3 separate regions of the Homo sapiens genome follow, and all the other regions are linked to region 1. Evidence: promoter capture Hi-C in 16 types of primary human blood cells and fetal thymus (Javierre and others, 2016). All regions are on one chromosome and are shown on one strand. The core of a region is centred on a gene start or on the middle of the fragment in contact, and the rest is flanking DNA. Distances in the headings are between cores, read along the strand shown. Region 1 holds the start of SOX21 (SRY-box transcription factor 21). Region 2 has its middle 57 kb from the start of CLDN10-AS1. Region 3 has its middle 110 kb from the start of ABCC4.

What was found. The method cuts DNA at HindIII sites, captures the fragments that hold promoters and counts their contacts. A CHiCAGO score of 5 or more calls a contact.
Region 2: a contact is called between a fragment that was not itself captured here and the fragment with the promoter of SOX21 in region 1, in 1 of 17 cell types (erythroblasts). The highest score is 7.2, in erythroblasts.
Region 3: a contact is called between a fragment that was not itself captured here and the fragment with the promoter of SOX21 in region 1, in 3 of 17 cell types (erythroblasts, endothelial precursors and total CD8 T cells). The highest score is 6.4, in erythroblasts.

Annotation. Positions count from the first base shown.
Region 1 is chr13:94,709,517-94,714,673 of GRCh38, reverse strand. SOX21 (SRY-box transcription factor 21) reads left to right here and starts at 2,129. Exons shown (of 1, transcript NM_007084.4): 1 at 2,129-5,052. The coding sequence starts at 2,625. The coding sequence ends at 3,455. It overlaps SOX21-AS1 (SOX21 antisense RNA 1), which reads right to left and starts at 1,958. Exons shown (of 2, transcript NR_046514.1): 1 at 1,281-1,958; 2 at 1-1,036. LOC112268114 (a long non-coding RNA gene) reads left to right here and starts at 1,231. Exons shown (of 2, transcript NR_158368.1): 1 at 1,231-1,266; 2 at 1,412-1,954. RefSeq lists an enhancer at 904-1,405. The HindIII fragment of the contact is 9,809 bases long and covers 30-5,157 here.
Region 2 is chr13:95,474,169-95,479,325 of GRCh38, reverse strand. It overlaps a transcript of CLDN10 not described here. Among named protein-coding and RNA genes, the nearest start is that of CLDN10-AS1, 57 kb to the left of the region's middle. RefSeq lists an enhancer at 359-718. The HindIII fragment of the contact is 4,663 bases long and covers 283-4,945 here.
Region 3 is chr13:95,407,731-95,412,887 of GRCh38, reverse strand. No RefSeq gene overlaps it. Among named protein-coding and RNA genes, the nearest start is that of ABCC4, 110 kb to the right of the region's middle. The HindIII fragment of the contact is 1,085 bases long and covers 1,797-2,881 here.

The DNA of each region.
Region 1 (5,157 bases), core at 880-3,379:
AATTCACGTTCATAATTACAATCAAAGCTTTTGTGTGTGTGTGTGTGTGTGTGTGTGTGTGTGTGTGAATGAACTGAACATAAATCGTAGGAAGACTTAAAGAGTTAACCGTTTGTAGATGTTCCTACTTGCACATACCACAGGGCTAGGTCAAATCCAAACTGCCAAAGAAAGAAGGCAAGCAAGTTCTCCCTGAAGGGCAGGCCACCATGTGAATAAAACCTCCAGACAGATCATGTTCTAAATGTGCCGCAGCATACCAAAAAGTGAGGAAAATACGGAAACAGAATCATGCTGTTTGACTTCTGCATCGTGTTAACTATTTTTTTTAAAAAACTGCTCTAACTACTAAAGAAGGAAATTATGCTTAGCATAAAAATATTCCAGCACTGAGTGATTGGTACGTTTTACTTCTCTCTTCCAGGGAAACTACTTACACTTATTGATTTTAAACACCTTCACCTCAGCAGCGCATGTAAGTGAGACACTGTAAGTTAACTGTACCTTAAAGAGATCAGTATATAGATGGTTCTGGCGACCAAGATTACAACAAAAGACAAACAACACAGAATTTTTAAAGAGCTGAATAGTCAGTCAAGGATGCATACTCTCAGTCTGGGCTAGCTCTTTTTTGGAAAGGTTGCCAAGAATGTCCTTATTCCCTCCAGAGTTATTTTTCACTCCACTACCTCTGACTAGGTGCATCGCCAGTGCAAGAAAATGCGAGAAGCCTCTGTTTCTGTTGCAAGCAACACCTGGACCTCCAAGGAAAATGAGCACTTTCTTGCTAGGAACAGTCTCAAACATTTTCAAGGGTGAGTCTCCCCTTCTCCAGGTTTAACCCTCTTCCTCCGTAGCTGGAGAGGCTCTCCTACTCGTGCCCGCCGCCTTCTTCCTCCCGGCGAGGATTCCAGGGCCACAACCAGGGCAGCTGCACGCCAGGCCGGCCTGGGTAGCCGGGATGACACCAGGGTTTGCCAACGCCAAACAGGGCGCAGACTCCCCGGCGCGCTCCGGACTCTCCACTCGCCTAAACCTGCTCTCAAGTGAAAAGGAGTGGGAGGAGGAGGATTGGGAGGGGGCGGGGGGCGGAGGGGATCTGTTAATTCGAGGTCCTGGGGGTGTGGGAGCGGGAGGCGGCTCCGCTGATCCCTCCTCCCTCCCCGAGTCCTGGGCTCCACCTCCTCCGCAGGCCCCCAGATATACACACACAGCCGCGGCTGGACATGCACACCCAGTGCCGGCTCCGGGCGCGCACACATGCAGGTAGCCACACTCACCTGAGCCGGTGCAGAGGGCGGCCTGGGCTGGGAAGGGGCCCCCTGCGCCGCGGGAGTGGGGAGAGCGGGAGGTGCCACAGCGCGGACCTGCGAACTGAGGTGATGGCCCGTTTTCCTTAACTCTCCTGCAGCACCTCCGCCCCTGCGCCGGCTCGGCTCTGGCCACAGCAGCGAGGACAGAGGGGCCCCGGGCGCGGCGGACTCGCGGGCGCACGCTCCCAGGAGCGCGCCGAGAGGGGCGCCGCGGCGCAGGAAACTTGGGCGAAGTTAGTTGCAAGTGCCAGGCGGCTGCCGAGAAGAGCGAGGCGGGGACGCGGCCGGTGCCAGGCCTGCGGCGCCGCGTGGAGGCTGCGCTGCCCTCCGCGGCCGGCGAGCTCCGGGAGCCCTAAGTCGGCAGGCGCGCCTGAAGGGGCTCGGAGCGAACAGAGCCGGCATGGCCCAGGGGACGGCCGGACGCGGCTCCTCGGCGAGCCGGGAGAACTTCCTCTGAGGCCGGGCGACCAACGCTTGCTCAAGCCTCATCCACCCTCCTTCCTCGCCCCACCCGTCAGTCCAGCAGCGGGAGAGGAAGACTCGAGAGGCAGGTGCTGCGGGGGACAGCTCCCCCCTCCAAAAAAAAAAAATCACCCAGCCGATTGGGGGTTTCCCATCGGCGCACCCTGCCCGGAGCCAAGAAGACAGGCTGGTGCTGCTGTATTTGTATTTATATCCATTGCTGCGCTCTGCGTTCTCGTGGCACGCCTGGACACTCCTCCGCCTCCCCCTCCTCTTCCTCCTCCAGGGCCACCTCCCCGCCTTCCCCACCCCCATCTGCTTCTGTCAAATGAGAAAGTCACCGAGGAGAACCCAAACACTCCAGCCGCTGAGAGCCCCCTTTGGCACTTGGCAGCACGCGGCGGCGGGCTCCTCGGCTCAACTTCGAGGAGTCTCCGCGACGCAACTTTTGGGGACGCTTTGCATTTAAGAGAGAACGACCGAGGAGGAGGAGCGCTCTGCCCGGCCGCCGCTACCTGCGGGGAGCTCACCAGCAAACGCCACTGCAGACGAAGGACCCAAAGAACGTAAAGGGCAAACTGCCGCCGCGGGGAGGGGGCACCGCCGAGAAGTTAGAGTGTCCCAGAGACAACCTGCTCGAGCGCTCGGCCGGAGACACTAAGGCGGCCCGGGGCGCGGCGTGGCCCTGGGCTGGTCCCCCAGCCCCCTCCTCCGGGGCGGGAGCGACGCCGGGGCGCGACGAGCCCCGGCCGGCCGAGCGGGTCTCCGCGGGCAGCCAACATTGATTTCCTCCGGGCCGAGGGCGAGGGCCCGGGAGGCGGCGGGCTGCAGCCGCGGCAGGGCGAGAGCATGTCCAAGCCGGTGGACCACGTCAAGCGGCCCATGAACGCCTTCATGGTGTGGTCGCGGGCTCAGCGGCGCAAGATGGCCCAGGAGAACCCCAAGATGCACAACTCGGAGATCAGCAAGCGCTTGGGCGCCGAGTGGAAACTGCTCACAGAGTCGGAGAAGCGGCCGTTCATCGACGAGGCCAAGCGTCTACGCGCCATGCACATGAAGGAGCACCCCGACTACAAGTACCGGCCGCGGCGCAAGCCCAAGACGCTGCTCAAGAAGGACAAGTTCGCCTTCCCGGTGCCCTACGGCCTGGGCGGCGTGGCGGACGCCGAGCACCCTGCGCTCAAGGCGGGCGCCGGGCTGCACGCGGGGGCGGGCGGCGGCCTGGTGCCTGAGTCGCTGCTCGCCAATCCCGAGAAGGCGGCCGCGGCCGCCGCCGCTGCCGCCGCACGCGTCTTCTTCCCGCAGTCGGCCGCTGCCGCCGCCGCTGCCGCCGCCGCCGCCGCCGCGGGCAGCCCCTACTCGCTGCTCGACCTGGGCTCCAAAATGGCAGAGATCTCGTCGTCCTCGTCCGGCCTCCCGTACGCGTCGTCGCTGGGCTACCCGACCGCGGGCGCGGGCGCCTTCCACGGCGCGGCGGCGGCGGCTGCAGCGGCGGCCGCCGCCGCCGGGGGGCACACGCACTCGCACCCCAGCCCGGGCAACCCGGGCTACATGATCCCGTGCAACTGCAGCGCGTGGCCCAGCCCCGGGCTGCAGCCGCCGCTCGCCTACATCCTGCTGCCGGGCATGGGCAAGCCCCAGCTGGACCCCTACCCCGCGGCCTACGCTGCCGCGCTATGACCCCGCGGGGCCGCCTCGCGAGGACCGGTGTGCACACGTGTACATATGTATAGGTACGAGCGCTGCGGCCTCCCCGTGCGCCCTCCCGCGACCGGGGGCCCGGTTTGTATGTACATAGAATGTATAGGTGCCAGGTAGAGGCAGAGAGGCCAGGCGGGGCAGGAGTGGCCAAGCGCGCAAGGGCGCGGGCGAGCAGGCCTGTGAATTCGCAGGATCATTTCAGACCCGCACTTCGGCAGCCAACTCGAAAGCAGGCGGTTGTGTGCGGCAGCAGTTGGCGTTTGCTTTGCACTTCGGAACCTGTTGCGTTTTGACCCACGGAGGTGGAGGAGTAACTTTTTGACATGTTGGCCTTTCCAGTTTTGTTGGAAGTTTCATGGTCGGTTTTGTTTTTGTTTCTCATTCTTCTTCCTCGCCCCTCAGCCCCCCAACCCCCAACCCCCTCCCGGTCCGTGTTGCATGCACGCTGTTCAAATGTGAGGTCTGAAATGGCTGGCACACGGGAAAAGCTGCTTGTGTCATTCGTTTCTGGGAGTGGGATGGCTCTGAGCAGCCTCGCCTCCCTGTTTGTACTATTTGAACTTTGCAGATCTCTGTTCTCTCAAGCAGAACTCCCAACCAGATCCATTCTTGACCAGTGACCGGCTCGAATCTGGCCTTTTGTGTGAGATGATCACGGTTTCTTTTGTTTATCACGCCATTTGCAAATCAGAGCAAGAGCTCTTTCTCAAGGGCAAGAAACGCAAACAAGAAATATTTGTGAGATGAAAGTTGTCAATTGGATTTTCTTCCTAAACAAACAACAACAACAAACTACTAGAAGTCTCCCTGAGTCCACTCGCTTGGATTTCTGACACAGTTTACAAAAAAGGAAAAAGGCACTGCTCCTATTTTCCCTTATGGCTGAGTTCACCTTAAGATTGTAAATGTGTATATGTCAGTGAAAACATTGAGGCTTGGAAAATGTGTTATTTTCGTTGCCCTAAGTTTGAGTCGACTTTAGACTCAAAAACATTTTGAGCGAATATCAAAGTTAACTTTTAAAAATTGCGAAACTATTTCAGAATCGCAATTTTATCGAAGATTAAATCAGACTTTTTTGTCTGGTAATTATATATTTATTATTTAGCAAAACTGAAGAAAAAAAGCACAGAATTGTTTCAACAGATGTCTCTCATTTTCAGCTAGCATTTCTCTCCCAAGTTGAGCTGGTTTAATGTGTTTTGGATTTCCCTCCTCAATTGGCTTATTTTTTAGATCACCTGCAATTCATTTGCAAATTGCAATAAAACACATTTTAGAAAAAAGGAACCTTCAATTATTAGCTTTGTTTCTTTTTAAATGTATATATTTTGACTAATGTTTGTGAATGAAGTTGGCTAACATGTATTTAGTTTCATTTTGGCTTTATGTAATATAAAGTTTTTAAAATTTTAAATATGGTTTTAACCTTTATGTGTAAATGATTTTCTAGTGTGACCTTCTAATTTAATATTAGACGTCTAAGGTATATCTGTAAATTAGAATCCGACTATCACTCTGTTCATTTTTTTTGAACAAAGAGTTTAAATAAAGCCTGAACCAGGGAAAAGAAAAATCTTCTATTTCTTGTTGAGTTCCTAACAAGATTTTTATCTGAATTGCCCTTACGTGCCTGGTCCAGGTGAAGTGTAAGGTATCCTCCAAAGGCACCCTTTGTTTC
Region 2 (5,157 bases), core at 1,365-3,864, 760 kb before region 1:
CAGACTGGAGTGCAGTGGTGTGATCTCAGGTCACTGCAACCTCTGCCTCCCAGGTTCAAGCAATTTTCCCTGCCTCAGCCTCCCAAGTAGTTGGGATTACAGGCACCCGCCACCACACCCGGCTAATTTTTATATTTTTAGTAGAGATACGGTTTCACCATGTTGACCAGGCTGTTCTTGAACTCCTGACCTCGTGATCTGCCTGCCTCGGCCTCCCAAAGTGCTGGGATTACAGGCATGAGCCACTGCACCCGGCCGGTGGCCACTATTTATTAGGAAGCTTGTTATCTTCTACCACTGCACCTGCTGATGATTGCTCTCACAGGCACTTAACCACTGGCTAATAAAATGAAAGTTCCTTAAACCTTACGCACAGGAAGCCACTTAGGCTGCAGTTGCAGCCCTGTGCCAGGGCAGTGCTTGGCCAGTGACCTATAACTCCCTGAGGCTCCTTGTGAGGGAGCAACTCCTGAAGTCACATGGCGAAGATGCTCACAGGACATGATTCTTAGGATGATCCCACCTGTCGAGACCACAGGCTGTAACTCACTGTCACAAGTTAGTGATGAACGCGGAACCTTAATGAAACCGCCAGCGACAGCTGTGCCATACTGCAAGTCACCACTAGGGGGAAGCAGAATACAAGCATCCGGGTAAGAACCAACGAAGCGCTGAGGAACGTGGCCCAGGAAGCCAAATGGGGATGGGAGGGGAGAAGGATCCTAGGCGCACCCTCCCTGTTCACCCCACCCACCGGGCAGACCTGCACACTCCTGGTCTTGCTCTCAAACCATCTGATTCCTCTGTTTCTCTGTTCTCTGGTCCTGGTACAGCACATTATATCTTCCGTATGGCAAAGGCCAGTGGTTCTCTAACATGGCTGTATGTTTAAATCACCTGGGGAGTTCTGTAAACGCTCTACATCCTGGCCTTATCTCAATTAAATCTGAATCTCCAGTGTTTGGAAGCAGGGATCAGTGCTTTTTATATTTATTTATTTACTTGCTTATTTATTTTTGAGACAGAGTCTCACTCTGTTGTCCAGGCTGGAGTGCAGTGGTGCGATCTTGGCTCACTGCAACCTCAGCTCCCTGGGCTCAAGCGATTCTCATGCCTCAGCCTCCCAAGTAGCTGGGACTACAGGCATGCACCACCATGTCCAGCTATTTTTTTTTTCTATTTTAGTTGATATGGTGTTTTGCCATGTTGGCCAGGCTGGTCTTGAACTTCTGACTCAAGTGATCTGCCAGCCTCAGCCTCCCAAAGTGCTGGAATTATAGGCATGAGCCACTGTGCCTGGCCTCCAGAGCTTTTTAAAACACAACAGGTGATTCCAATTTGCAGCCAATTTTGAGAACCACTGTTTTAGGCAAAAGATCTCATTTCTTTTCACATGAAAGCTGGCTTTCATTGTTAGAGGACTCCTCCAAGAAGCCTCCCTAACGAACCACACGTTTTCCTCCTCCTCCTCCATCTGTCCACGGGCCTGTCTGCAGCTGATGCCAGTACTTATCATGGCTTAAGATACATATGGGTTACCTGAGGGTGTTGCAGATTCAGATTCGTTCAGTCTGGGGTGAGGGGTTGAGACGCTGCCTCTCTAAGTCCCAGGTGCTGCTGGTCCACAGACCATCCACAGTAGGGTTGGCAGGACATCAACCTGTGTTTCCGCATGTGCACCTTTGCAGTTGTTCTCTGTTTTGCATTCCTTTTCTGCTTCTGTATTAACCATGTTTCTCCTTTCTGTAAACCTGATGCTTTAACATCTGCCCCGCGTGCATCTGCAGGACACACCTTGCTCTGTGCAACCCAATAATATGTCTCCCTCACTGTCCCCCTCCCCCTGGAAGGAGTCCTCCGGGTGATATGCTTTTCAAATGAAAACCAACCCAGAGCTCGCATCCCAACCAATTCCCTTATCTGGCTCTCACACTCCAGGCCACTATCCCCCTGCCCTAATCACCCAGGACCAGGTATCTGACAAATAGGAACAGCCTGTATGCCCCAGAGCCTGCTGAAATGATTTAAACTAGCCAGTCCTGAGCTAGCTAACCCTGCCTTGCCCACTCTTTCCTGTGGAAACCATAATAAGGGCTCTGGCCACGTTCTCTTCTCCCTCTGCCTCTTGACCAGCCCTCGTGCTGCCCCGGGTGTCCCTGCATGGCGTGGCGTGCCCACTTCTCTTAGATCTGAGAGTAAGAAACTCTCTCTTCAGTGAGAGTCATCATCTGATCTATTGGCCTCACCAAAGCTGAATAAAATTAAAACCTATTAGAGCAACTCCCCTGCTAGGAGGAGAGGCGTGGCTGGTTCCCAACTTGTCTGCATCCCGCCTCTCCTCCCAGTCTTGCTTGGGTCCCTGCTATGCTGCTCATGGTATGAACACAAGACCCTGTACACACACAGAAAAGAGCACAATCAGTGACTGTTGAATGAATAAGTGAACAAATGTAGGGAGAAAAATTCTGAACTTGGAGACCTGGCTCTGCCACTAACAGCTGTGAGAGATTGTGAAGGTGCCCCCGAGACTCAGTGACTTCATCTGTCCTGTTATTTCATAGTGAGGCCACCTGAGCAATATGTGTTAAAGCCCCTTTTCATCCACATGGTAGCATCCTCCTTTCTCTCTCCATCTCCTACTTGTCACTGGTGTTCAGGGTTCCAGCCTTGCCCTTCACACACTGCCTGGGAGGTCCCATCTGTTTCTGAGTCTTTGAATCTTCACCCACAGCTGCTATGGTCTGAATATCTGTGTCCCTCCAAAATTCACACGTTGAAATCCAAATGCCCAAGGTGATGGCGTTGGGAGGTGGGGCCTTCGGGAGGTGATTAGATCTTGAGGGTGGAGCCCCCATTAATGGGATTAGTGCCCTTATACAGAAGGCTCCGGAGAGCTGCCTCACTTCTGCCACCACGTGAGGACACAGAGAGAAGACTCACCTGTGAATCAGAAAGCAGCCCTCACCGGACACCAAATCCATCAGCACCTTGACCTTGGACTTACTTCCCACCCTCCAGAACCGTGGGAAATACATTTCTGTTGTCTATGAGTTACCCGATCTAAGGCATTTTGTTATAGCAGCCTGAACAGACTAAGACACCAGCTCAGGCTCCCCTCTTGAGCTCCACACACGTCTAACCAAATGCCGACAATCCATCTCTATCCTGTCAACCTGCCTGTAAGTCATATTTGACACATTCAAAATCGAGTTTATCATGCCTTTGCGCCTCCCAAACCAGCTCCTCCCCTCATATGTCCTATCACCACAAGTGCCCAGAAGGGGAGTGGCACACGGAAGGAAGCAATCTGGGCGATGGGGGTGGAATTAGATGGCAGAGATTTGTGACAAGCATAGAAGACCACCCAGCACGCTCAGGGGCAGCATCAATCATAAGTCACATCACAGCAGAGCCATGGTGCTCATCACAGCAGAGCCATGGTGCTCAAGTCCCGACAGGGAGAGAGGGTGAGGGAGAGAGAGAGAGAGAGGGAAAGAGGGAGAGAGAGGGACAGAGAGAGACAGAGAGAGAGAGAGAGATGCAGGGACCCTCGACCCATGCAGGTGGGCTTGGGATCATGAGAGCACATGAGGATAGACCCCAGGCTGGCTTCACTGAGACGCCACCCAGAGAAAGGCAGCTGGAGGATGAGGTGGGAATGGAGCCCTTGCCACCTTCCTGGAGCTCCAAGCCAGTCACCCTCACCAGGGGCCCAGAGGCCATTGGGGCAAACAGCACTGAAACTCTTTCAAACCCTGCTGGCCACTTCCCTCCCTTGGGGAGCAGCAGAGAAGCCCACTGGTGGCCAGTGCTCAGTCAGCACAGCTGAGGTGGGCTGGCAAAACTCCTGGCTCTCTCTGTCTCCGAGAATTGGCTGGGGCATCTGATGGTGGTTGCAGAGCCTCATCTCCCCTCTCTTGAACTTAGCGGAGATCAGGCTCAGCAGATCTGCCCAGGTCCCCAGGAGGCCGGGCTGGTTACAGTCTCTGGGGACCAGGTGCTCCCCTTTTGAACCAAGGTTATTTCTCCCAACCAGGGAGCTTCCATAATCACAGGGATGTCCCCTGACCCCATCCCTACAAATATGTAGAGTGCAAGGGAGCAGGCAGCAGGGGGCAGGGGTGGGCTCTTAATCCCTGGCAGGGAGCTGCTGCCGTCTGATCCTCTGATCCGAGTTGTGGGACAGCACTGGGTGTGTGCTCCTACTTCCTGGCTTATAGGTTTCCTCCTCTGTGTGGCACCAGCATGTGTGTCCTTGACTCCTTAGCAGAGAGGAGCCAATTCACTCTGTCTGTGAAGCCAAAACACAAGAGACCTGCAAGTTTTGAACCCTCCTCTCCACCAAGATGTGAGACGTATACTGGCAGATCCCTGAGATCCCATTAGGCTCAGGCCCTCCACCCACCGCCTCTTCTGGGCTCAAGCCTCCCTCTGGCACCTGCAGCACAGAACAGCCTCCTCCAGCCTGGCTCCACGCCTGCCCCACCCCCATCTTCCTCCACCCTACCCCCTGGAATGAGCTTCCCAAAAGGCAGATCTTACCAGGTCTCTCTCCTCCTTGGAGCACTTATCAATCTCTACTTGCCTTTTCCATTCTCTTCTCCCCATCCGTTTCTACATATGGGTTTCCTCCCCAGTTTCACTGAGACAGGGCCATTGCCCTTGCAGGCCTCCCTGCTGTTTCTGAATACACAGCTTCTTCTTGGATTTGTTCTCTTACTCTCTTCCCTGCTAGAAGCCGTGGCTAACCTGTTCTTATCTTCCCTGACTGAGGTGGGCCTATTTCTCCGCTCTGTGCTCATAGCAGCCTCCTCTAACCTCCATTTGAGACTTTGTTTTATTGCAGGGGTCCCCAACCCCTGGGCCATGGGCTGGTACCAGTCTGTGGCCTGTTAGGAACTAGGCCGTACAGCAGGAGGTGAGTGGCAGGCAGGTGAGTGAAGCTTCATCTGTATCTGCAGCTGCTCCCCATGGCTCACATCACCACCTGAGCTCCGCCTCCTGTCAGATCAGCTGGGCATTAGATTCTCATAGGAGCACGAACCCTATTGCAAACTGCACATACGAGGGATCTGGGTTCCCTCCTCCTTATCAGAATCTAATGCCTGATGATCTGTCACTCTTGATGATCTGTCACTGTCTCCCATCACCCCCAGA
Region 3 (5,157 bases), core at 1,090-3,589, 700 kb before region 1:
AAAGAAGTCCAATTAAAAAATAGTGAGCTTGCTGACAGCAGGTAGAGAAGTAGAGGTTTACAGTATTATCCGTGCATATTCCTACACCTACCTCCCTTGGAGAAACTCATTATTAACAGTAACTGTATTTTTTGCACCATGTCACTGAAAAGTATCTAACATCAGGAAGGACTGCTATCCTGCATCTATTTCTCTGCGATTATACTAACATAATCACAAGTCATGATAACAGTTGCTGCAGGAAATTATAAAATGCGTTGCCTGGCCAAATGTGTTTTCACTTTGGCACACTTATTTTAAAGTGGCTTTCAAAGCAAATAGAATGGACTCATTATAGACAGAAAATTGAGTGGAGGTATGCTAAAGCAACCAGTGCTGGGATCAGTGAACAAACAACCCCATCAAAGAGTGTGGTGGTATAAAAACATGCTGCTGAATATTTATCATTTTATTCAACAAATGCTCTGATGCACGGTACTAGGCACACAGGAAGAACCAGAAAGTTCAGATAGTTCAGATTTATAGGTTTGAACTGAATTTTACAGAAAGCTGTTGTCTTCATGCAGTTCCTTCTTATTTTATTTTATTTTATTTTACTTTATTTTATTTTTTTGAGGCAGAGTCTTCCTCTGTCATTCAGGCTGGATTGCAGTGTCGTGATCCCGGCTCACTGCAACCTCTGCCTCCTGGGTTCAAATGATTCTCTTTCCTCAGCCTCCCAAATAGCTGGGACTACAGGCACGTGCCACCACGACTGGCTAATTTTTTTAGGAGAGCTGGGGGGGGGTCTCACTATGTTGCCCAGGCTGGTCTCGAACTCCTAAACTCAGGCAATCTGCCCACCTTGGCCTCCTAAAGTGCTGGGATTACAGGCATGAGCCACTGTGCCTGGCTTTCATCCAGCTCTTATTTCTTAATTTCAAGTTGGTCAGTGGCACCATGAATAATGAATCAAATTGCTTGATTTGGCTTTTACCCAGGATAGAAAGACTCATGCCTTTCTACTTATAAATAAACAAACAAAATTAGGAGCAATTATTCTAAGCACTCTTGTTTGCTATAAAGTCGGGCAAGAGCTTTCACTGGGTCCAGACAAGTGTGAGCTCGGCTGGTTCTCTTGTTTGATATTGCCCAGATCTGCCCTGGAATGTGCAGGATGGAGATCCTTGTGGGATATTCTTCCTGTGCATCCCCAGAAGGGCGGGTGGGAGCCAGGAATTTTGCTGCCATCTCAGGCTTCCATTTTCAAACCACAGCATTAACATAACCATCCTGCAACTTCAGAGACGGCAGAACATTAAAACAGCAACTAGCCTTTGTCTTCAGCTCCCAAATGAACTGCAACATGGTGAAGATCACACACAGCAGGGACGACGACATGAAGCAATGATAGACACGTCCTCCCCCCACCTTATGCTCAGACAGTGCACTTTTTCTTCTCTTTATTGTAAAATATAACACCACACAAGAGAGTAAAACGTAACATACAACATTACTGGGTGTGGATAACATGCTTACTAGGAGAATTTCAGCTGTTTCCACTCAGAGAGCTAGTTTACTCAATTCTCATTAATGGCCTGCAAATTTGTATTCATGCATTTGTTTTCATATTCCATGTCTAATTCCAAATTGTTCTCTTTAAAAACAAAATGTTTAAACCACTTTATTGTTGTATGACTGACACGTAAAAAGCGGTGCATATTTAACATATACAAGCCAATGAGCTTGGGGATAAGTATACACCCATGAAACCATCACCATCAAGGCCATAAACATATTTGTCACCTCCCAAAGCTTCCTTCCACTCCTATTATAATTATTATTTGTGTGTATGTGTGGTAAGAGTATTTAATATGAGACCTACCCTCTCAGAGAATTTTAAGTATACAATACAGAATTGTTAGCTATATGCACTATGTGTATAGAGATCTCCAGAATTTATTTATCTTGCATAATTAAAACTTCATACCCTTTGACCATCACCTCTAGATTGTTTTTTGATATTGTCGTTTTGTTTTGTTTTGACAAGGTCTTGCTCTGTCACCCAGGCTGGAGTGCAGTGGTGTCATCATGGCTCACTGCAGCCTCAACCTCCTGGACTCAAGCCATCCTCCCACCTCAGCCTCCTGAGTAGCTGGGACTACAGGCATGCACCACCACACCCGGCTAATTTTTGTACTTTTTATAGAGACAGGGTTTGCCATGTGGCCCAGGCTGGTCTTGACCCTCCGGGCTCAAGTGATCCACCAGCCTCGGCCTCCCAAAGTGCTGGGATTACAGGTGTGAGCCACTGTGCCCAGGCTAGATGGTTAGTTATCTCACCCAAGCATCTATCTTCTTGTTTCTCTGTATGGATGTAGGCTTAACTTTTATTTTTAAACACATTCCAGACCTCCTTTCCAGAATCCTCTCTTGTTATTGGTTGACATATTATTGGATCTCACTTCAGACTGACTCCCCAACTCACCCCAATAGGATCTAAACATACAGAGATTACTCCAGAATCATCTGTGGCATCTACACCTCCCTGAGCAGAAGGAGAAGCCATGTGAATTATGGCATGGATCGAGGTCGGGTTGCTAGCCTATAGCAAACCACCTTAACTTCCCTTGAGAAACTTCCTGACGTCTTTAGGAAGATGAAAGATCATTCAAAGCAAATATTTATGCTAGTTCAATATTTTGTAGCCCTCAACAGCTCCTTCCAAAGTGATTCCTCAACTCCAGATGACATGTCAAAACCTCATCCTCTCTCCACGTCTTTCCAAATTAATATGGATTTCAATACATTCTAGACAGATTTCAGATGACAATTTCATAACTATATCATCATTTTGTGCCACCACTGCCTTTTCTTGATTATTTTGCAATGATTCAAAGCTTGACCTAAAATTTAAAAAACATAATTATATTTTATATGGAGTCGAGTTGCCATTTGAGGCTGGCCCCATTGTCAAAACACCTACAGCAATGGACTATGAGCAAGAGGCTGGGGATGCTCGGGTGAAGAAGAGGAAACGACGGGTACAGCCCTGTCCACCCTCTGCTTCTATGAGTGGGGCCTAGGACAGACGTTGCCTTTAAGGAGTGAGGTATTGTGGTGACAAAGAACAGATAGGAGCTTTGGAGCCAGGAAAAGCTGTGTTGGCCAGAAACTTTTCAGCAGGTGCTATCTAAGACGAAGTTACTTATTTTAAACTTTAAAAAATACATATTGTGGGCCAGGTGCAGTGGCTCAGGCCTGTAATCTCAGCACTTTGGGAGGCTGAGGCAGGAAGATCAATTGAGCCCAGGAGTTTGAGACCAGCCTGGGCAACAAAGTGAGACCAAGTCTCTACAAAAAAAAAAAAAAAAAAAAAATCAAAAAATTAACTGGGTGTGGTGGTGCATACCTGTACTCCCAGCTATATGGGAGACTGAGGTAGGAGGATTGCTTGAGCCCAGGAGGTTGAGGCTGCAGTGACCTGTGTTCCTGCCACTGCACTTCAGCCTGGGAGACACAGCGAGACTCTGTCTCAAAATAAAAAGGAGGGGTGCTGGGCGCAGTGGCTCACATCTGTAATCCCAGCACTTTGGGAGGCCGAGGCAGGAGGATCACTTGAGGTCGGGAGTTCAAGACCAGTCTGACCAGTCTGGCCAACATGGTGAAACCCCATCTCTACTAAAAATACAAAAGTTAGCCAGGCGTGGTTGTGCATGACTATAATCCCAGCTACTCAGGAGTCTGAAGTAGGAGAATCGCTTGAACCTGAGAGGTGGAGTTTGCAGTGAGCCGAGATCATGTCACTGCACTCCAGCCTGGATGACAGAGCAAGACTAAAAATAAAAAAAGAATTATGGTAAAATATACATAACATAAAATTTATTATTGAGACAGGGTCTTGGTTTGTTGTCCTGCAGCCTCGACCTCCCCAGGCTCAGGTCATCCTCCCACCTCAGCCTCCCGAGTAGCTGAGACTACAGATGTGTGCAACCACACCTTGCTAATTTTTGTATTTTTTGTAGAGACAGGGTTTGGCCATGTTGCCCAGGCTGGTCTTGAACCTCTAGACTCAAGTGATCCTCCTGCATTGACCTCCCAAAGTGCTGAGATTACAGGTCTAAGCCACCATGCCTGGCCTCATTTTAACCATTTTTATCTTATTAATTCAGTATCATTAAACACGTTCTCATTGTTGTGCAACCATCACCACTATTCATCTATAGGGTTTTTTTCATCTTTCCAAACTGAAACTCTGTACCTATTAAACCATAACTCCCTATTTCTCCTATCCCCAACCCCTGACAACCACCATGCTACTTTTTGGCTCTATAAATCTGACTATTCTAGGCATCTCACTTGAACAGAATCATACAGTATTTGTCCTTTTGTGACTTGCGTAGTTCAGTTAGAATGATGTCTTGGCCAGGTGCAACATAGAGAGACCCCCATCCCTACAAATAATAATTAATTTAAAAAAACAATAATTAATTTAAAAAATTAGCTGAGCATAGTAGTGTGAGCCTGTAGTCCCAGCTATGGGAGGCTGAGGTGGGAGGATCAATTGAGTTCGGGAGGTCAAGGCTGCAGTGAGTCGCACTGGTGTCACTGCACTCCATGCCAGGCGACAGACCAAAAAACAAAAACAAAAACAAAAACCTAGAAAAAAATATGGAAAGCAAGCACAGTGCTTGGCATACAATCAATGGCCAGTAGTTGCATCCATATAAATGACCCCATCTCTACCTTCAAACTGGGCCTGATTTGCTTTTGTTTATTTATTTATTTATTTTTAATTTGAGACAGGGTCTCGCTCTGTCACCCAGGCTGGAGTGCAGTGGCATGATCTTGGCTCACTGCAACCTCTGCCTCCCAGGTTCAAGCAATCCTCCCACCTCAGCCTCCCGAGTAGCTGGGACTACACGTGCCTGCCACCATGCCTGGCTTTTTTTTTTGTTTTTGTTTTTTTTGAGACAGTCTCACTCTGTCACCCAGGCTGGAGTGCACTGATGCGATCTCTGCTCACTGCAACCTCTGTCTCCTGGGTTCAAGCAATTCTCCTGCCTCAGCCTCCCGAGTAGTTGGGATTACACACCTGGCTAATTTTTGTATTTTTAGTAGAGATGGGGTTTCACCATATTGGCCAGGCTGGTCTTGAACTCCTGACTTCAGGTGATC